Linked DNA regions of Homo sapiens: regions 1, 2, 3, 5, 6 and 7 are each linked to region 4. Evidence: promoter capture Hi-C in 16 types of primary human blood cells and fetal thymus (Javierre and others, 2016). All regions are on one chromosome and are shown on one strand. The core of a region is centred on a gene start or on the middle of the fragment in contact, and the rest is flanking DNA. Distances in the headings are between cores, read along the strand shown.

What was found. Contacts are between HindIII fragments. The CHiCAGO score rates a contact against its expected background, and 5 or more counts as called.
Region 1: a fragment that was not itself captured here is called in contact with the fragment with the promoter of LARS2-AS1 in region 4 in 1 of 17 cell types (megakaryocytes); the score reaches 6.5 in megakaryocytes.
Region 2: a fragment that was not itself captured here is called in contact with the fragment with the promoter of LARS2-AS1 in region 4 in 2 of 17 cell types (megakaryocytes and erythroblasts); the score reaches 5.4 in megakaryocytes.
Region 3: a contact is called between a fragment that was not itself captured here and the fragment with the promoter of LARS2-AS1 in region 4, in 2 of 17 cell types (M1 macrophages and endothelial precursors). The highest score is 5.5, in M1 macrophages.
Region 5: a contact is called between a fragment that was not itself captured here and the fragment with the promoter of LARS2-AS1 in region 4, in 10 of 17 cell types (endothelial precursors, erythroblasts, M0 macrophages and 7 more). The highest score is 9.4, in endothelial precursors.
Region 6: a contact is called between a fragment that was not itself captured here and the fragment with the promoter of LARS2-AS1 in region 4, in 6 of 17 cell types (megakaryocytes, endothelial precursors, M1 macrophages and 3 more). The highest score is 12.4, in megakaryocytes.
Region 7: a fragment that was not itself captured here is called in contact with the fragment with the promoter of LARS2-AS1 in region 4 in 1 of 17 cell types (endothelial precursors); the score reaches 6.8 in endothelial precursors.

The regions. Positions count from the first base shown.
Region 1 is chr3:45,833,284-45,836,281 of GRCh38, reverse strand. It overlaps LZTFL1 (leucine zipper transcription factor like 1), which reads left to right. Exons shown (of 10, transcript NM_020347.4): 3 at 498-692; 4 at 1,984-2,044. Among named protein-coding and RNA genes, the nearest start is that of LZTFL1, 7.3 kb to the left of the region's middle. The HindIII fragment of the contact is 276 bases long and covers 1,164-1,439 here.
Region 2 is chr3:45,167,701-45,170,663 of GRCh38, reverse strand. No RefSeq gene overlaps it. Among named protein-coding and RNA genes, the nearest start is that of CDCP1, 23 kb to the right of the region's middle. RefSeq lists a silencer at 2,844-2,963 and an enhancer at 2,524-2,963. The HindIII fragment of the contact is 2,845 bases long and covers 1-2,745 here.
Region 3 is chr3:45,075,824-45,079,013 of GRCh38, reverse strand. The region is part of intron 1 of LOC124906233 (a long non-coding RNA gene); the gene reads right to left. Among named protein-coding and RNA genes, the nearest start is that of CLEC3B, 51 kb to the right of the region's middle. The HindIII fragment of the contact is 4,633 bases long and covers 1-3,190 here.
Region 4 is chr3:45,508,124-45,511,140 of GRCh38, reverse strand. LARS2-AS1 (LARS2 antisense RNA 1) reads left to right here and starts at 1,596. Exons shown (of 4, transcript NR_048543.1): 1 at 1,596-1,784. All of the region lies in intron 15 of LARS2 (leucyl-tRNA synthetase 2, mitochondrial), which reads right to left. RefSeq lists a silencer at 1,230-1,524 and an enhancer at 2,351-3,017. The HindIII fragment of the contact is 1,698 bases long and covers 1,094-2,791 here.
Region 5 is chr3:45,023,731-45,026,680 of GRCh38, reverse strand. It overlaps CLEC3B (C-type lectin domain family 3 member B), which reads right to left and starts at 378. Exons shown (of 3, transcript NM_003278.3): 1 at 210-378. The coding sequence starts at 318. The HindIII fragment of the contact is 1,257 bases long and covers 692-1,948 here.
Region 6 is chr3:45,058,744-45,061,508 of GRCh38, reverse strand. No RefSeq gene overlaps it. Among named protein-coding and RNA genes, the nearest start is that of CLEC3B, 34 kb to the right of the region's middle. The HindIII fragment of the contact is 8,779 bases long and covers 1-2,765 here.
Region 7 is chr3:45,908,502-45,911,436 of GRCh38, reverse strand. It overlaps a transcript of LZTFL1 not described here. Among named protein-coding and RNA genes, the nearest start is that of CCR9, 23 kb to the right of the region's middle. The HindIII fragment of the contact is 2,010 bases long and covers 500-2,509 here.

The sequences.
Region 1 (2,998 bases), core at 52-2,551, 330 kb before region 4:
TATTATTATTTTGGGTCTCAAGAATGCAAAGAGAAGCAATATATATAATTACCATTTATTTCCCATAGACGTTTACTAACCTGTGAATAGTTCATACAGTTATTAAAATGTTAGAGAAATATTAGAAAGAAATGAGACTATGCCTTCCGGGTGACTTTTGAAATTATTAAATGTAATAAGACTGATTTCAGTGGAGTTTGAAATAAGACATTTAATACTAAAAAGTTAAAAAAGTAGATGATGGTTTTGGGAATGTGTTTGAGCATTTACTTGTATTAAAGGATGTGCACAATTTAATCATTTGAATAGATGTCAAAAATTAATTGAGTTTAAATTATTTTCAATGTTTATTAATAAAGAAGATAGTTCCCAGAGAGATTTTCACTGTAATCTTTGAATTTCTTAGATTACATGAATGTGGGTTTCTTAATTTTGCTGTATTTTGTAGATTTTTCTTGTTGTTTTTCTATAAGTTTTGGATCATGGTTGTTTTTCAGGCTGGTGGAGGACACCTTCACCATAGATGAAGTCTCTGAAGTCCTCAATGGATTACAAGCTGTGGTTCATAGTGAGGTGGAATCTGAGCTCATCAACACTGCCTATACCAATGTGTTACTTCTGCGACAGCTGTTTGCACAAGCTGAGAAGTGGTATCTTAAGCTACAGACAGACATCTCTGAACTTGAAAACCGGTAATAAAATTTGAACTTGCAACTGTGACAATAATGGCCCAAGCATAATCTTAAAAGTTAGTGAACATCTTTGGCTGCATATTTTCTTGGGGCTAGTGTGTGAGGAAATTTGGGTAGGGTAACAGCAAAGCATTGAGTCACTGAGTGATCTCTTGGGTACCACTAAGCACCCTTTTAAAAGTTCTCTGTTTCTACTGTTCCTAGGTATTACAAAGGCCATCGAGATTTATGAAATTGCTTTTCAGGCTATCATTAATTATTTCTTACAGCATTTTTGTTAGCTTGGTCAGTATTACCATCAGTCTTTATAGATTGGTCAACTAAGAAATAGAGATTATGAGACAGTTGAAAAGTCAATTCAAATATAATAAATACCATCAATTCAATCCAGTAGCATTGGAAGTTTTCTAAATAATGGAATTTAAAAGTATACATTTATTAACTTTGAAATAGGAAATATACAAAAAAGCTTATAATATGGACATCTAAGAGCTCAAATTCAAAAAATATGGTAAAATTGGTGAAGTTGAAACTCATTTTAAGAAAAAGCATGCCAGAAATCAGGAAGGACTGACCGCCAAGCCCCGTGAACTACTCTAAGCACAGTCACAGCACATCAGTTCACATGCAGAGTGTTGAACAACGCTGAGGACAACCTATGAGCTGGGGAGGAAAATCATTGAACTTCTGCCACTGTCAGTAGATGACTGGTGAGAAAACTCTGAGAAGGTGGTGCTTTAAGAAGCTTAGAAGCTGACTGCTGTTAACACTCTAAGCTTGTGTGTAGTCACTTCTCATTGGCCTTTGCAAATCTTCAGATGGCACACCCCCACTATCTGTCTTTCCTAGGAATTTGTGGTACTCTTTTTCAGTAGATACTATGGACTATTTTCATTTTTCTGAGACTACTTTATTAAGAATCTTTTTTGAACACCTACTAGCTAACAATACACATTATGTAATAAAACAGTCTCCTCATAGCACCTCAAGAATACAAAGTTGACTATAAATTTTCCTCATATTTGTATTAACATTATGGTTTATTTCTAGCAGTAGATATTGCATACCTAGTAGATACAAAATGCCAGGTACTGTGGATGATTACATTTGAGTCCATGTGGTTTAGGTTCTCAACCATTTGCAACTAACATTTTTGATATGGTGAAGTTTGGTCCATCTTGCTCTGTTCTCTCTGGCATGTAATGGGTTGGTACCAGTGATTTTACTCTTCTTGCGTGTGATATAAATCTATTTTAAATGAATAATTTTTATCTTTGCTTTCTTCTTCAAGAGAATTATTAGAACAAGTTGCAGAATTTGAAAAAGCAGAGATTACATCTTCAAACAAAAAGGTAACTTTTTGGTCATTCTAAATCCATATCTTAATAGCCAGTATTTAAAATCCTCAAGTTGCTCAAAGAATTCAGAGATCAAAACTGAGAACTCTTAAGGAAAAGCATTCAATTCAAGAGTAAAATTCAGAAATTGTCTATCATATTTTCAGGCAAAAGAAAAAATGTTTTGGAAGTAACTGTGAAAAACTGCTTTTGTCTGTGATGGCTTACACATACACATGATCCCTAAGTTCAGTCTCAATCCCACTCATAAATACTCTACTCAGAAGATTCAGAGCGCAGGCTGTAGGGTCAGCCACACCTGGGTATACATCCTGGCTCTGTCACTTCCTGGCTGTGTTACCTTGAGCAGGTTATCTGAGGTAGCTGAGCTTCATTTTACTCATCTGACAAATGGAGACAATACTAGTAGTTATCTACCTCTCTTTCTAATCATTCTCATTAATTGGAGTGGCCACTTACCATTCCACTTCACGGGCACACCGTAAATACTCCATTGTTGGATAAATACTGCTGAGATGAATCTATGTACATACACATGCAAAATACTTTCCAGTTATTCCTTTGGGTCATATTTATGGCTAAGAAATTTCTGGATCAGAGGGCATGAATTATTTTATTTTTAATATATATTACTAAACTACTATATTATTTGTGCCAAGTTATTGTTTATCTGTATTATACTTGCCTAGATCTTCATCAATATTATTGTTTTTCACAGAGTCTAAGGTTCATGTAGAAATCACTGTTTCAGCTCCCACAGGCTAAAATTCTAGTTGCTAGATGCTAGGCTCTATATCAGATCTGGCTTTGAGCTCCTTCCGTCCCTCCTTTCTTCCCTCATTTTCCTTCTATCTATATATTTTTAAAAGATACAGGGAAGATAGGTTTTATTTTTGTCTCTAACATGTATGGGGCACTGTAGGACAGGCATATCCTAGGCACTGGGAG
Region 2 (2,963 bases), core at 74-2,573, 340 kb after region 4:
GCACCCAGATCTGTACCAATCCAGAAGGCAACTTGACCCAACCAGCAATTTTGCCTAATATTCTGTTCAGGGCTCTATGTTAGGTACAAAGAAGAGGCGTACAACAAAGGCCAACAGTGGGGGTTGAAGACCTGTCTGCAACATTCCTCCTAGGAAATGGTAGAGTCTCATTCCCCTTCCCTTGACTATGAGTCCCTTTTAGTGACTCGATTCTAACCAATGAAACACAGGGGAGTGACATTGTGTGACTTCTGAGGCTAGGTCATAAGAGAAAATACAGCTTCCTCCTGTCTGATGTGTTCTCTCTCTCTTCCTTTCTCTCTCTTGGAGCCCAGCCACCATGCTGTGAAGAAGCCCAGGCCATAAAGGGAGGAACACTCGTGGGTGTTCCAGCCAGCAGTGCCAGCTAAGGTCCCAGCTGGCAGCCAGCACCAGTCACCAGCCATTAGTGAGCAAGCCTCGGAAGATTCCTGCCCCAGCCTTCTGGCTGCCCTAGCTGATACCACAGAGGCAAGCAAAATAAAGCCCCTAGGTTTTGGAATGTTTATTATGCAGCATGAAGTAACTGGAGCACAAATACACAGAGCCAGGCTCTAACCCAGCCCGGGACAACTGGGAACCAAGCACGGTATATGGAACATCCTAAACATTCCTCAGCTGACAGGTGTATATTCCGCTGTTTTCAGATGGAACAAAATCAGTTCTGAGCTGTGGCACCGAGCTGTAGACCCACATATAAACGATGTGCCATCCAGGTGGGGGAAATGAAGGAAGGCCTCAGAGGGGAAGCCGTTTTGACCACACTGTGGAGGATGAGGAAGACAATTTCAAGAGAAAAGGGCAATGCAAATCACAGACACTGTGAGCTGGACACTGTGGCCTCAGGGCGCTCTGGTCAATCCCTGCATCCTCTGTTAAAGATTGGCAGTACTGACCCCTGCACTCAGGCTTCCTATGTCCTACTGGGCATGTCCCCTCTTCAGGTCACCTAGAGGCTGCCCTCAGCTCTCCTCTCCCTGACCTTTAGGGTAGGAGGGATTTGACAGAATTTGATGTTCGTCCACCAGAGGTGGTCTGTTGACTGTTGAGTGATTTCCACAGAACTGTGTATTTTGCATTCCTTATCTTTCCATTCCCCACCTAGACCCCTGCAAGGCCCCGCAATTTCTTTTCACCCACTCACTGCTTCGTTAGTGCTGGAGTTAGTCAGATCTCATCAGTCCCTCCTCGATGGCTCCTTCCCTCTTGTTCCACTGCTGACAAAGGGGCTTGCTCTCCACCAGCCTTCCCTGTTGGACTCTGTGCTTTGGAACCAAGTAATTGTTCCATTACTCATTACGTTTTACAGTTATAAATGCAAGACAAGTCCATTACAGAAAATGCTGAATCAAGAAAAGAAACTACACACAATCTCATCACCCTGCCCCGCCATCAATAACCATTCATCTCGTCTTCTTTGAGGATTTTTTTTTCAACACCTATAGCGTTTTTAAAATCCTGTTATAGCCGGGCACGGTGGCTCACACCTGTAATCCCAGCACTTTGGGAGGCCGAGGCAGGCAGATCACCTGAGGTCAGGAGTTCGAGACCAGCCTGGCCAACATGGCAAAACCCCATCTCTACTAAAAATACAAAAACCAGACATGGTGGCTTACCCCTCTAATCCCAGCTACTCGGGAGGCTGAGACAGGAGAATTACTTGAACCCAGGAGGCAGAGGTTGCAGTGAGCCTACATGGCGCCACTGCACTCCAGCTTGGGTGACAGAGCAAGGCTCCATCTCAAAAAAATAAAAAATAAAAATAAATAAAAATAAACAAACCCTCTTATCATACTGCACATTCAATTGTGAATGCTGAGTTTTGTCTTTGGTGTCACAGTGCATGCTTTTTGTCATCATTTTCTTTCCTAATGAATACGTAGTGGTGTCAAGTGGCTGAACCTCGTTTTCTTTAACTATTTTTACAGTGTTTGGCATCTACGTGGTTTCCAGTTTTTCCCTGCAGTAAACATCTCCCTGCCTAGGGCTTTTTCTGAAAGCTGAACTACTTCCTCAGGACAGATTCCTAAGAGAAATGACTGGGTCAGAAGTTGTGGGTATATTAATGGCTCTGGATATAGACCACTTGTCAAATTATCTCAGCGACTTGTTTCTTTGAACTGTGATCTTGTAGTTAATGCTGTTGTTGTTCTGGAAGTATTAGATGACCACTGGAGAAAATTTGGAAACGTTGAGAGAAGTGAATAAAAATCAATCTCATTTCACCCATAAAATGATAATCATTATCAGTAACATGTTGGTGTCTTCCTCTCCAGTCTATTTTTCTTCATGTAAGTTTTAGGGTTTTTTTTTTTGTTTCAGTGCCTATATGAATTAGCATAATTATCATGGCACTCTAAATAAATTAGACTTCATAATTTTTCTTGAACATAACAGCTAAGCATTTTCCACTTTATTGCAAACTTCAAACAGTTTAAGATATTTTCCACTGAGTAGATGTATCCTCATTTACTTTCCCATTATCCTATTTGGGGACACTTACACTGATTCCAAATTTTTGCTCTTAAAAACATTTGCCAGGAATAAATCTTCAAGTTCTGACTTAAAAAGCAGTTTGTAAGTTGGGTAAACAGAAAAATGATGAAAACTTACAATAGAAGAGTTGACTAATTGGTCTTGATTGTGGAAAAGGCTAATTTCTAAGCTCCTTCCTAGATTCATGAATGGAATTTAAATAACTAAGCTTTTTTTTTGTTCGTTTACAATCAAAGCAAACCCAATGAAGATTACTGATTGGGAGCCCAGACACCTGGTTTTCTGGTGGTTTTTCCCTCGGACAAGTCACAGGCCTGGCCTCTTGTGACTTAGTCAAATGCACAGTCAGACTAAACGGTGGCGGCACCGGCGCTGCAGGGCTCCCGGCTGTTTCCTTTTACCAACCCACACCGTTGTCAAGGGCGGCG
Region 3 (3,190 bases), core at 210-2,709, 430 kb after region 4:
CAATTTTTTTTTTTTTTTGAGACAGAGTCTCGCTCTATTGCCCAGGCTGAAGTGCAGTGGCATGATCTTGGCTCACTGCAACCTCCACCTCCCAGGTTCAAGCGATTCTCATGCCTCAGCCTCCTGAATGGCTGGGATTACAGGTGTGCCCCACCACGCCTGGCTAATTTTTGTATTTTTAGTAGAGGCAGGCTTCACCATGGCCAGGCTCAAACTCCTGACCTCAGGTGAGTCTGCCTGCCTTCACCCAGCAAAGTGCTGGGATTACAGGCATGAGCCCCTGTACCCAGCCTTAAGAACCTCCTAATGATCCCATGAGTTATATGGATGAACCAGCACGGCCTCTTCTCTGCCCTTTAATGTAGGTGTATTAGTCCGTTTTCATGCTGCTGATAAAGACATACCTGAGACTGGGAAGAAAAAGAGGTATAGTTGGACTTGCAGTTCCACATGGCTGGGGAGGCCTCAGAATCATGGTGGAAGGTTAAAGGCACTTCTTACATGGCAGTGGCAACAGAAAAATGATGAAGATGCAAAAGCAGAAACCCCTGACAAAACCATCAGGTCTTGTAAGACTTACTCACTACCATGGGAACAGTATAGGGAAAACTGCCCCCATGATTCAAATTATCTCCCACCAGGTCCCTCCCACAACATGTGGGAATTATGGGAGTACAATTCAAAATGAGATCTAGGTGGGGACACAGAGCCAAACCATATCATCCCACCCCTGGCCCCTCCAAATCTCATGTCCTCACATTTCAAAACCAATCATGCCTTCCCAACAGTCCCCCAAAGTCTTAACTCATTTCAGCATTAACCCAAAAGTCCACAGTCCAAAGTCTCATCTGAGACAAGGCAAGTCTCTTCCACCTATGAGCCTGTAAAATCAAAAGCAAGCTAGTTACTTCCTAGACACAATGGGGGTACAGGTATTGAGTAAATACAGCCATTTCAAATGGGAGAAATTTGTCAAAACAAAGGGATTATAGGCCCCATGCAAGCCTGAAATCCAGTGGGGCAGTCAAATCTTAAAGCTCCAAAATGATCTTCTTTGACTCCATGTCTCACATCCAGGTCATGCTGAAACAAGAGGCGGGTTCCCATGGTCTTGGACAGCTCTGCCCCTGTGGCTTTGCAGGATACAGCCTCCCTCCTGGCTGCTTTCATGGGCGAGCGTTGAGTCTGCGGTCTGCGGCTTTTCCAGGTGCACAGTGCAAGCTGTCAGTGGGTCTACCATTTTGGGGTCTGGAGGACAGTGGCCCTCTTCTCACAGCTCCACTAGGCAGTGCCCCAGTAGGGACTCTCTGTGGGGGCTCCAACCCCACATTTCCCTTCTGCACTGCTCTAGCAGAGGTTCTCCATGAGAGCCCCGCCCCTGCAGCAAACTTCTGCCTGCACAGCCAGGCGTTTCCATACATCCTCTGAAATCTAGGCTGAGGTTCCCAAACCTCAGTTCTTCACTTCTGTGCACTTGCAGGCTCAACACCATGTGGAAGCTGCCAAGCCCTGGGACTTGCACCCTTTGAAGCCACAGCCCACGCTCTACATTGGCCCCTTTCAGCCATAGCTGAAGTGGCTGGGATGCAGGGCACCAAGTCCCTAGACTGCACACAGCACAGGTACCCTGGGCCTGGCCCTCAAAACCATTTTTTTCCTCCTAGGCCTCTGGGCCTGTGATGGGAGGGGCTGCCATGAAGACCTTTGATATGCCCTGGAGACATTTCCCCATTGTCTTGGGGATTAACATTCGGCTCCTCATTACTTATGCAAATTTCTGCAGCTTTCATGAATTTCTCCTCAGAAAATAGATTTTTCTTTTATACTGCATTTTCAGGCTGCAAACTTTCCAAACTTTTATGTTCTGCTTCCTTATTAAAACTGAATGCCTTAAATAGCACCCAAGTCACCTCTTGAATGCTTTGCTGCTTAGACATTTCTTCCACAGATACCCTAAATCACCTCTCTCAAGTTCAAAATTCCACAAATCTCTACAGCAGGGGCAAAATGCCACCAGTCACTTTGCTAAAACATAACAAGAGTCATCTTTGCTCCACTTCCCAACAAGTTCCTCATCTCCATCTGAGACTACCTCAGCCTGGACTTTATTGTCCATATTGCTATCAGCATTTTGGGCAAAGGCATTCAACAAGTCTCTAGAAAGTACCAAACTTTCCCACATTTTCTTGTCTTTTTTTGAGCCCTCCAAACTGTTCCAACCTCTGCCTGTTACCCAGTTCCAAAGTTGCTTCCACATTTTTGGGTATCTTTTCAGAGGCACCCCTTCTGCTGGTACCAAGTTACTGTATTAGTCCATTTTCATGCTGCTGATAAAGACATACCCGAGACTGGGAAGAAAAAGAGGTTTAATTGGACTTACAGTTCTGCATGGCTGGGGAGGCCTCAGAATCATGGTGGGAGGCAAAAGGCTCTTCTTAACATGGTGGTGGCAAGAGAAAAATGAGGAAGATGCAAAAGCAGAACCCCCTGATAAAACCATCAGATCTCATGAGACTTATTCACTACCATGCGAACAGTATGGGGGAAACCACCCTCATGATTTAAATTATCTCCCACCAAGTCCCTCCCACAACACGTGGGAATTATGGGAGTACAATTCAAGATGAGATCTGGTGGGGACACGAGCTAAACCATGTCAGTAGGGACACAGATCTAAACCATGTCAGTAGGTAACTGCAAGAGCTAGACTATGGTCATTTGAGACCCAGCCAACAAACAAGCCTAGGAAAAGATTAGCTATAGTCTACAGGACTCAGAAAGAGGGAAGATCTGAAACTGATGTAAGAAAAGAGCTCCCCACCCCAGCCTTCTGCCCAGGCCAGCAGCAGTGCAGCAGCAGCAAACGCTCTCGCCTTTGTTCCCTCTCCCATTTTCAACACTCTGACTGCCCAGCCCGCATCCTCAAGACCCAGGAGGCAGCTTCGTGGTCATGTAACCTACGCGTTACACAGAGCCTGCAACTCGGAAGGGCCCCACACTTGGTCTCTGCTGTTGCCAGCTCAAAATTCTTAATAATTTTTGAACAAGGGACCCAGTGTTTTTATTTTGCCCTGGGCTCTGGCAAATTAAGTAGCCAGGCCTTTTCAGAGGATGAGGCAGTCTCTGAGAGGTTAAACAACCTGTCTGGGGCTTCACAACTAAGAGACAGACCGAGATTTGAGTCCTAGTG
Region 4 (3,017 bases), core at 347-2,846:
TCAGATGGATCATCTAGAGCAGGGATGGCAAAACCTAGCCAACTATCCCCAGTGCCCTTGCCTACAACCACCCAGACACCATTCATCGACAGCAGCACTCCTGGTGCTCAGAACGAGTCTCTGAATTCTTCTTCGTACCATATAATCAGAAAGCACAGAGTTATTATGTGAAATGTATCACTTATTTCTTTGGTATTTCTTGAGTGCTTGCTATGTGCCTGGCACTGAGCTAGGCACTGGGGATATAATGTTGGGCAAAGCAATCTCTGCCCTTGGGGAGCCAGCCTGTTTACGATCACTGAACCAAACCAATGCCTGACAACTCTCAGAGCTGTGAGGGAGGAAAAGAAAGAGTGCAGTCATATTTGAAGAGCTCCTCCTCCCAATCAAGTCCAAATTCCTCCGCATAGCCATCCAGGACTTCTCCCTGTCCCCTGCCACTCCCTCTGCTCTTTCAAATGTTGCCTGCATGTGCTTCCACGTCTTTACTCACGCCATTTCCCAAACTGTTATCAAAACTCTAGTCCTCCTTCCTGGCTCAACTCAAATGCCATCTCCACTGAGAAGGTATCTCCTGGTCAGAATTAGAATTAGTTGTTTTTTCCTTCCTGATGCATCCTGTGTAGTGCCTGTAATTGTATCTAGCAGCTATTACATTTTATTGTGTATTTAGGTAAGCTGCTTGCCTGTCTTTCTCCTGTGAGGAGTAGGAGGATGATTTTTTTTTGAGACAGGGTCTTGTTCTGTCACCCAGGCTGGGGTGCAGTGGCACAATCACAGCTCACTGCAGCCTCAGTCTCCTGGGCTCAAGTGATATTCCCACCTTACCCCTGCAAGCAGCTGGGACCACAGGCGCGCACTACCACACCCAGCTAATTTTTTGTATTTTTGGTAGAGATGAAGTCTCACTATGTTGCCCAGGCTGGTCTTGAACTCCTGAGCTCAAGCAATCCTCCTGCCTCGGCCTCCCAAAATGCTGGGATTACAGGCATGAGCCACTGCTCCTGGCCTTGAAAATCCTTAAAGGCCACTCTCAGTCTCCAGTTCCTAACAGATGCTCAGTAATGTTAATTGCCTTGAACTCAATCAAGCTTGTTTCAGTGGATGAATAAACCTACCAGCAGCAGGGGTGGGGGATAATGTGAGTAGGACAAAGTGGAGGCAAGAGAGGAGGGAAGAAAGAAATGAGTGAAGTGGGGCACTGGATGCTATACTTTCCAGCTAGTGCCACCATCTTTTTGCAGGGAGGGGTGCATTGAAAGATCCCAAGCAGCTGAAGCAAGAGAATGAGAGCAGGGGAATGCCCCGATGAGTGCTCACATGGAATTTCCCAGTGGGGAAAGGGGCGCTTCCCAGCTCCTAGAATCCTGCTCATTCCCAAGTGTTTTCCCTCCACTTTTCCAGGGAGCCAGGGAATGGGCTATAGGGAGTTGGGAATCTGGTTTTCACTCTTGGCTGAAGCTGGCCATGTCTACTCTCATGCGTAGTTTAGCTCTGAATGAGTCACACTTGTTTATTCATTCAACATGTATTTACATGATAATTGGGTACACAGCACTAGGCAATTAATTGGAGAGCTTACAATAAGAACAGGCAGCCCAGGACATGCTCATAAATAACCATCAGCACTACAAGAAAGACGTACCAAATGTGATTTGGAGGCGCAAGGTGCACAGGAATGAAGGACAAAGGACATCAAGGGCCCTGCTGGACTTGGAACCCAGGCCTGCTGGAGCAGAGATCACATCACATTGCCAAGTTCATTATTCAGATTCACAATTGGGGTAATGTGTTTCCCTTTTGTTCACTCATTCATTCACTCAACAGATGGTACTTGGGAACAGACTTGCGTATGCAACTGAGTTATTCATTCATCATAGTGACTGTGCACAGCAGGGGCCTTTATAAGTGAGTGGAAAATCTGCAACTCTAAACCACTAACAAACCGTTCTGACTCAGGGACCATCAAACGCGGGAGTATTAGGCAGGGCCTCTGCCTTGAAGAAGGCCCTGGATTTCTGAGTCAGCTTTCTTCCTACTCCTTCGGTACATCCCTGGAGGTAGATCATGCTTGCTTGCACTGAAGCACAGCTATATGTAAGCACAGTGATGAAAACTGGGGGGAGATCTTCACAATTTCTTCATTAGTTTAGACTGCACTAACTCAGAAATTGCAACAACTGATAGCTGCTGGGCATTGAAGGCCACATTTGTCCCACTTGGAAGAAGGAAAGAAGGAAGGGAGGGAGGCAGGGAAAGAGGGGAGGAAAGGTAGGGAGGGAGGAGAGGGAGGAAGGGAGGGAAGGAAGGGAGTTGCTAATTATTAGGATAAACAAGGAAATTCAGAACATTGATTGATTGGCCATGTTAAGTGCTCTTAAAAAAATCACTATATACAAGGAATGTGCTAATTACAGTATGAGCAAAGAATATCAGGATGTATCAGAGCCCCACCTTCTTGCTGCAGATGACATTTACCTATTCATGAAGCCCCAGAGAGCCTGCTGCCCACTCCCCTGACCTGGTGCGAGAGTGGCCTGCCAGGCTGCAGATCTTTGAAGGCCATAGATCTCTGAAAATGGTCTCCAAATTGGACTTTTCATTAAATCAGACTAAGTTTACCTTCCTCTTCTTCCTTGTTCTGTGCCCAGGGCCATCATGTCACATAATTAGCCTAGTTTCTAAGTATTAGCCATGGCTCATTCTTGAAATATCACCATTCCCATTTCCTAGCAGCCAGTTAGTGGCGCAGAAGGAGGGTTTACTAATACAGCAGGACCCAAGTAAAGCTTCTCTTCCCTTCCTGTTCCTTTTCCCAGTAGCCCCGTTTCTGGCATGATCAGAGTAACAGAGAAGAAAGCTCTGTGGATAGGGGCTTGCTGTGCTCTCCACGGTCAGCAGGCGGCCTGCCCTTCTCATGGGAGCTCCCTGAGCAGCTGCTTGCTTCTGACAGCCACCACTTTCTGTTGATTCCAAACTGAAGGGAGAAATTCAGTTTGGGGAATTTAGTGTCTAAG
Region 5 (2,950 bases), core at 71-2,570, 480 kb after region 4:
TTCTTCCCAACTCTAAGGGTCAGGGATTCTTATGATTCTGACAACCAACTCTGCTATGAGAGAACTCCCCCAAGCCCCAAAGCCCACTTTACTCAAGTTCCCTAGATGACTCAAAAGGAGGAAAATGAAGGAAAGGAGCATGAGGACACACTAAGGAGAGGGGGACCTGCTCCCTGGAAGATGGCACAGGGCTCTGTCCCCCTCCTTACCTTTCTTGGCATTTACAATCTTCTTGGGCTTCTGGGTTGGTGGCTCGGTGGTGACCTGGGTCAGGAGGGAGAAGAGGCAGAGGAGGAGGTAGGCCCCCCAGAGCTCCATGCTGCTGCGCGGGCGGGGGCTGCTGCTGCCTGCAGCGGGTCTGGGTCCGAACGCAGTGACAGCCACGGCCCAGGCTGCACGTCTTAAGGCAGCAGCCAAAGGACCTCTGTCCAGGAAACCCTCCCCAACTTGGCTGCAGGCGTGCCAAAAAAATAAAACAAACACACAAGCCTGCAGAAGGATGAAGTCCTGAGGGCCACAGAGCCTCTCTGCCAGGGAACACCCACGCAGCATCCTGGCCCTGCCTTCTAGAAAGAAGCCCTTATTTCCTAGGATTCTGAGAAACACACGGTGGTTGTCATCACATCTGCGGAGCAGCTACCTTGGGTAGGGGCTGAGGCTGGCTGTTCACTAACATTAACTCACAGAAGCTTCACACCCAAACCACGAGGGAAGCACTGTCCTTTCCCCATTTTACCATTGAGGAAATTGAGGCTCGGTGAGGTTAGGGAATTTGCCCAGGCTACCCAGCTGTCACGGGGTAGCAATGCCCCCTTATAGGGTGATCTGGGGCTGGCTGTCTGATTGGTTTAGAATATTTGTTATGATTATTTTGTGGCTCTGTCTCCATGTACTTGATGCATTTTTTGGTTAAAAAATCCAAGGGATTCCTTCCCTTCTTGTCTTCCCTTTCTCCTGAGTCCTGTCCTAAAGCCACAAAGTGGGGCATAGCAAAGGTGGCGGAGGGAGAAGCCATCGTGCCCCAGAGGTACCAGAGAGGATGTGGGGAGAATGTGCCCTCAAGGGGTGGACTGGTGTGGGGTGTGGGAGCCCAGCAGGGTGGAGGGAGCATCCTGGGGAAAGCAAAGGCCCTGCCTGGAGTGCTGGAGTCCAAGTGAGGCAAGGAGGGGATCCATGTGGGAGAGAGGCTGGTGGCAGAGACGGGAGATTGGTTACACACAGGGATACTGATCAAATAAATCTACTGAAGACAGTGGGAGTTAGGTTTCCTATTGTCAGAGAAGGAAGTTATGTATATGGAGAGAAAACTGGAATGAATCCTGTTGTGTGGGATTAAAATCGGAATGATCAGTGTACCCTTGTGGCCTTGAATACATAAAGATAAGTCCATATATATAGATGGAAATGTGTGTGTGTCTAGTCCCCACAGTCACTGGGGGGCCTGGAGCAGCCAGCCCCGCATAGCCTGGAGCACTCCTAGCACCTGAATACTGGCTTCTGAATATGACTTTCCACTAAAGGAACCAGAGCACCTTGCAGAAACGGCTGATTCTAGCACTGGGAAGTAGGAGTGGGGTGCAGAAAATGAGCCCGGAACTTGTTGTTTTGCCAGAAAACAAGGAAGTGCTTAATGAATAATGGGAACACGTCAGTAGGACACAGAGCCAGCTTGAAGGAGCCTTCAGTGGTCAGAATCAGGGACAATTTGAGCACCAACATAGTGACAGTAACAGATGGGAAACCACCAGTGCACACAGATATAAGTAAGTAAGGGAACGCATTGAAAGTCTGATGTTCTTCAATGGGATGTTTACATAGCCTCAAAGTATCTGCCCACAAAACACTTATCCATTCCAGAGAGAAAAAGAGCAACTTCATGGTGAAGAAGGCTGGCAGACATCACCTCATCTGTGACCAAAGTAAACATCAACAGGGCCAATAAAAAGCTTGCAGCACCTGGGGGGCTGCAGTGAGAATGTGGCATCACTCCATAGGACTCCGGCCAGAGAGACATCAGACAATCCCAAATGGAGGAGCATTCTGCAAAATGACTGCCAGTAATTTTCAAAGCTCCTGGCTGAGGAAGTGTTTCAGGCTGAAGGAGACTGAAGACACAGAACTAAATGCAATATGTGATTCTGGACTGGACCCTCCATTCTCAAGGATGCAGTTGGGACAACCAGAGAAATCTGATGGGGTCTGAGGAGCACACGGCAGTGATGTGTTGTCACATGCTGCATCATGACAGTTCAGTCAACAACAGGCCACATATGTGATATGCTTCCATAAGATTATAATGGGGCAGAAAAATTCCTAACACCTAGTGATGTCACAAAGGGTTGTAAAGTCATAGTGCAACTCATTATTCCCAAGTTTGTGGTGATGCTGGTGTAAACAAATTTACTGCCAGTCATATCGAAGTAGAGCATATAAGGTCATGTTAGCACATAATACTTGATTTTGTTAGTCCGTTTTCACACTACTCTAAAGAACTGCCCAAGACTGGGTAATTTAGAAAGGAAAGAGGTTTAATTGATTTACAGTTCCACACGGCTGGGGAGGCCTCAGGAAATTTACAATTGTGGCAGAAGGTGAAGGGGAAACAAACACCTTCTTCGCAAGGAGGCAGGAGGTACAATGAATGCAGGAGGAACTGCCAAACACTTATAAAACCATAAGATCTCATGAGAACTCACTATCACAAGGACAGCATGGGGGAAACCACCCCCATCGTTCAATGACCTCCACCTGGTCTCTCCCTTGACACATGGGCATTATGAGGATTACAATTCAAGATAAGAATTTGGGTGAGAACATAGTCAAACCATATCATTCTGCCCCACATGATTGTGCTTTGAAATGTGAGAGCATGAGATTTGGGAGGGGCCGGGGTGGAATGATATGGCTTGGCTGTGTCCCCACCCAAAATCTCACCTTGAATTGTAATCCT
Region 6 (2,765 bases), core at 165-2,664, 450 kb after region 4:
CCTCTCATCACCATCTTGGTTTTGGTGGGTTTTAGCTGGCTCCTTTACTGCAAACTGTTTTATCAGCAAGGTCTTTATGACCTGCATCATGTGCCAACCTGTCAAATTCTGTGACTTAGAATGCCTTAGCCATCTAGAAATGTAGCCTCATTTTGTAGGTCTCAGCCTCATTTTACCCAGCCCCTATTCAAGATGGAGTCACTCTGGTTCAAATGCCTCTGATATAGTGAATTGGGGTACCAAGTTTTTATTTTCCTTTCACAAAACACTGCAAATATTTTCCTTTCACAAAATACTGCTGGAAGCCTCTTCCACACCACCTCCAGGTGATTCTGGGGCTCCCATCCTCTACCCGACACTCAGACCTTGGTATCCCCAGGCCTTGATACCCCCATCCTCAGGGGCTGACAACCAGCCCTGGGAGAAGAGGTGCTGGGCTCCCTCCATCTGGAAAGAGGAGTCCTGGCACCAGCTGGTGAAATGATTTCAGGCCCTTTCCCAGCCTCTTCACATTGCCCAGGACTTTCCTATCTGACCCCTCCAGGATCCAGACTGGAGATGCAAGAAACCACTCTGACTAGGGACTGGGGTCTAGGGACTGGGGTTGTGAGGGGTCCAGCTGCTCCTTCGAATTCAGGGAGAGAAACCCAGCATGTGAGAGGGACTACTCAGAAAATTCTTTTGTGGTTGCTATGTCATTTGAGGGGAAAAAATATTTTTAGCCAAAATCCACATCCATGGCTCTGCAGGAGAAAAGTAAAGAAGCACTCTGCCACAGACGAGAATTCAGTCTGCACTGTGGACCCTGGGCTGGCTCACTGGCTCTCAGGATACCAGCAGGGGCCAATTTCATTCTTGATTCCTTTCTTTTCACAAAACACTAATTAGTTGGCTGCCTGACACCCACAGCGTTCCCTGAGCTTGTTTGCAGTCCTAGCAGTGGCAAGATTATTTTATATTCCTGGGTTAAGTCTTTTCCCCTACCTTCCACCTAAGGGACTGCCCCCCCTACCCCTCTATTAAGACTTCCACCCCCCACCCCACCCCATGCCCACCCCTGGTAGCTGCAGCCACCATGAGGCCAGCCTGCAGGCTTGGTTTCATGGGTCTTTGATCTCAATGGGATCAATAGTGTGGGTCAATACCTTCTCTTTTGATTTGCAAAGCACTTTCACAAGCACTCTTTTACCCCAATCATCACTGTGCTGGGCACACAACAACTCAATAAATTCTGAATTGAATCGGTCCTTATAACCACCCAGTGAGGCAAGTGCAGCAGAACTGATTATTTTCCTCCTCCTCTCTCTCTCACACTTTCTCTTTCTTTCTTTTCTTTCTTTCTTTCCTCTTTCTTTCTTTCTTCTTTCTTTCTTTTTTGATCCATTATAAGGAAATCCAAAGAATGTGTGATTCTGACACTAAGGCCACACAGCAAGAAAGTGGCAAACTGATGGGAGAAGTCCAGCCTCCTGCTGCCCGGTGTGAGGGAAGGGGGCCCTTCTGCTATACCCATGTGACTCCAAGGTGTGTTCTGTGGCTGCTGATCTCTCTTTTTTTTTTTTCTTTCTTTTTTTTTTTTTTTTTGTGAGACGGAGTCTCACTCTGTCACTCAGGCTGGAGTGCAGTGGTGCGATCTTGGCTCACTGCAACCTCCACCTCCTGGGTTCAAGTGATTCTCCTGCCTCAGCCTCCCAAGTAGCTGGGATTACAGGCACCATGTCTGGCTAATTTTTGTATTTTTCATAGAGACAGGGTTTCACCATGTTGGCCAGGCTGGTCTCGAGCTCCTGACCTCAAGTGATCCGCCCACCTCGGCCTCCCAAAGTGCTGGGATTACAGGCGTGAGCCACCGAGCCCGGCCTGATCTCTTGATCAGTATTTCAGTGCTCCTGGTGGCATAGGCCCTTCAGAGCCAGCGCAGGTGCTCTCCCAGGACTTTGGTGTAGGGATTCATGTGATCTAAGATCCCGCCTGTTTCCTTTCTTTTGCTCAGATGTTTTTCTGTAAGTAAAGTCACTAATGGGCCAAAAAGCATAATTTAAAATTGCCAAAGGAAAACAAATCAGTCTTTTTACTCTGAGAGCCCCTCTGGGAAAGCCAAACATTCCTAATAAATGATTCTTTCTATTCCAGAAAGACACCAAAAAGGGAACTGCAAAAATAACTCATTCATCAAAATAGTAGTTTGGCAGATAGTTCTGCGATATCACCAACACCCCCTCTCCAGGTTACTGAGAAATCTGGGGACAAAGAGAACTTAGATAGCAGTGGTGCCATCAGCTGCAACAGTTTAACTGGCCATGAAGGAGCCACTTGTCCCTTTGGTCTAAGCAGGTTTGGCTATTATTTTGCGGGAGTATGGTTAATCATATTAAGAAAAATTATCCAGAACTTGAAAGTTAGACAAAATGATGACTAAAAGTTATCTCCGAGTCTCCTTGAGCACTGTCCTAACAATCACCTGAGGGCCAGTTAACACCCTGGGGAAATGAAACTTTTGGTTGACTTACAATTGATTGGGACCTAGACTCTAAGAGCATGTGTTCATTTGTAGACAATTTGATAAGTTGCTATGATGATTAATTTTATGTGTTAACCTGACTAAGCCATGGGGTGCTCAGATATTTGACTAGACATTATTTCTGGCTGTGAGGGTGTTTCCAGGAGACTAATATTTGAGTCCATAGACTGAGTAAAGCAGATGGCCCTCCCAGTGTGGGTGGGCCTCATCCAACCCATTAAATTTCTGAGTAGAATAAAAGGTT
Region 7 (2,935 bases), core at 255-2,754, 400 kb before region 4:
ACTCTGTGCCTCAAAATGTGATAGCTGTTATCATTGAGAAAGACATCCACACCTTGTCCAATCCCTTTTACTCTCTTGGCTCTTTTGATTACTTCTGGGCATTAGTCAGCTAGTCAAGTTGGGGGACCGAGTGATTGGGATCATTGAAAGATGAGTTAATTTACAGAGTAGCCACCTTTGGTGATTTTAAAATATGGCCCTAGAGTTATTTGACACCCTTCCAATAAGAGGTGGAGTCTCGAGTCCCTTGACTCCGGGCTGGCCTCTGGCTGCTCTGACCAGTGGAAGAGCAGAGGGACACTGTGTGGCTTCCGGTGCCATGTCAGAAAAGGACCTGCAACTTCCCCTTGGTTCTCTTGCACAGGGGAAGCCAGCTGCCATGTAAAAGGTCTGAGTACCTTGAGCCCTCCCTGCTGAAGCTGCCGTGTGCTGGGGCCCTGCATGGCAGCCAGCATCAACTACTGGCCCTAAGCCAGTAGTTAAGCTTTCCAGTTAAGCTTTCCAGTGGCCACAGCCCCAGCCAATATCTAACTGCAGCCACATGAGAGACCCCAAGCTAAATATGCCCTGCTGAGCCCCTTCCAAATTCCCGGCTCACAAAATGGCGAATAAAATAAAATGGTTATTGTTTTTATACCACTAAATTTTGTGGCAACAGTTACCAGGACACAGCTGAATTGAATACAAGCAAGGTTCTTAGAATCACTTCTTTCATTTAATTGCAAATGAACCCAAAAGAGATCCATTTACATTTTTTTGTTGTTTTATTGGATTACTCCTGATACTTTATCATAGCAAACCTGACACAAGTTTCACCTACACATCCTCTTTCCACATCCTCACTTCCCATTGATTTGCTCCTCAGCCAATCACAGTCTGCCTTGTTGATGCCTGGGAAGCTGCTCCTAGCCAGGTCGCTGCCAGCCTCCACTCTCTCTTGACCTCAGCTCTTCCCATGCTCATGGCTACCATCTTCCGGGTAGCATCCCCAGACTTGCTCTCTGCTGATCCTCCCCTCCCAGGGGCAGCACCACCAACCACCCAAACGTGCAGATTCAAAACCCAAGTCATCCTTGATGCCTTCCTTTCTTTCAATTCTAATCTTCACCATTGTGTCTACCCCCAGAGTAAGTCAAAAGCCATCCATCTCTCTACACCACAACCACCACCGTCACTCCAACTCCGCCACCACCATCTTTTTCCTGAACAACTGCAACAGCTCCTGACTGGCATCCCTGCTTCCTTGCACCACCCCTAACCCCCAGCCACCACCCTTCTTCTCCTGGGGGCTTTAGAGATCTTTAAAACATGAATTGGATCATGCCACACCCCACTTAAAAATCTTCCTGAAGTGGAATAAATCAAAATTCATCATCTGCGCCTGAACAGTGCCCCTACCTTCCTCTCCTCTCTGACTTCCCTCTCACTCATAACCCTCCAATCACCAATGGCTCTTCTTTTAGCCACTTAACTCTGCTGATCACTTTCCTGTCTCAGAGCCACCTGTGAGAATTAGGGGTGATGGTCCCACCTTGTCTCAGGCAACATCAGTTTTCCTGTGGTCCTTAGAAACTTCCTGGTTTCCAAAAGTTGAACAAGAGAAACCCTGGAGCTCACTGCGGCCTTTATCAGCCTCTGTAGAGCATTCTGAGCCACCTGGAGATTACCCCCCTGAGAAAGTGCCACCCACGGCGTGAGGCCTTTCCGAGCTTGCTGCTCTATCCCCAGGGGACTCCGTCCCTCCTTCGGTTCCTTTGTTGAGTGGTGGCCTAACCACACAGAGGAAGAGTCCATCCAGTCTCCATTTCTTATTTTAATGTTTTAAAATTGTGATTTGGGGCTTTATAAGGATAAGAGCATGAGTTTTTAAGGGAATTGCATGATGTCTTGGATTTTCTTTAAAATACTACAGCAAACTTGTTTTTAAAAGGAAGAAGGTAAGGAAGGAAAAAGAAGGAAGGGAGCAGATGAAACAAAGAAGAGGAAAGGAAAGAAAAGTGGGAAGTGTAGCTGAAACCAAAAATGGACAGAATGTTAATCATTATTGAAGTTGGGTGAGGGGTATGTGCATCTTCATTATACCAGCGGTCCCCAACCTTTTTGACACCAGGGACCAGTTTTGTGGAAGACAGTTTTTCCATGGACCTGCAGCATTGGTGGAGAGGTGATTTTGGGATGATTCAAGCATGTTACATCTATTGTGCACTTTATTTAATTATTATTACATTGTAATGTATAATGAGATAATTATACAACTCGCCATAATGTAGAATCAGTGGGAAGCCTGAGCTTGTTTTCCTGCAACTAGACGATCTCATCGGGGTAATGGGAGACAGTGACAGATCACCAGGCATTAGATTCTCATAGGGAGTGCACAGTCTAGATCCTTTGCATGTTCACAATAGGTTTGTGCTCCTGTAAGAATCTAATGCCGCCACTGATATGACAGTTGGCGAAGCTCAGGCGGTGATGCAGGCGATGGGGAGCAGCTATAAATACAGACGAAGCTTCACTCACTTGCCTGCCACTCACCTCCTCCTGTGCAGCCTGGTTCCTAACAGGCCACAGAGCAGTAGTGGTCTGTGGCCCAGGGGTTGGGGACCCCTGCATTAATACTATTCCCTCTGCTTTTGTGTATGTTTTTAAATTTCTGTAATTAAAAAGTTTAAAAAGAAAAGAACATGAGTGGAGAAGTCCTAAACCAATTGCATGCATGGACACTTCACCAGAGAGTTGACAGTGATGTCCCACAGGCATGAGTGGTGCGGGGCCTTGGCACACACCGCCCTCCTCCCCTTTCTCCCCTGCTTCCTGTAGGTCATTCCTGTCCATTCTTCAGCTCTCAGCTCAAACGCTACCTCCTCAGGGACGCCTTCCCTGGCTCCCCTTTCCAGAGCAGATCAGAGTCCCCTGTCACACTCTCTAGCTTCCTGTA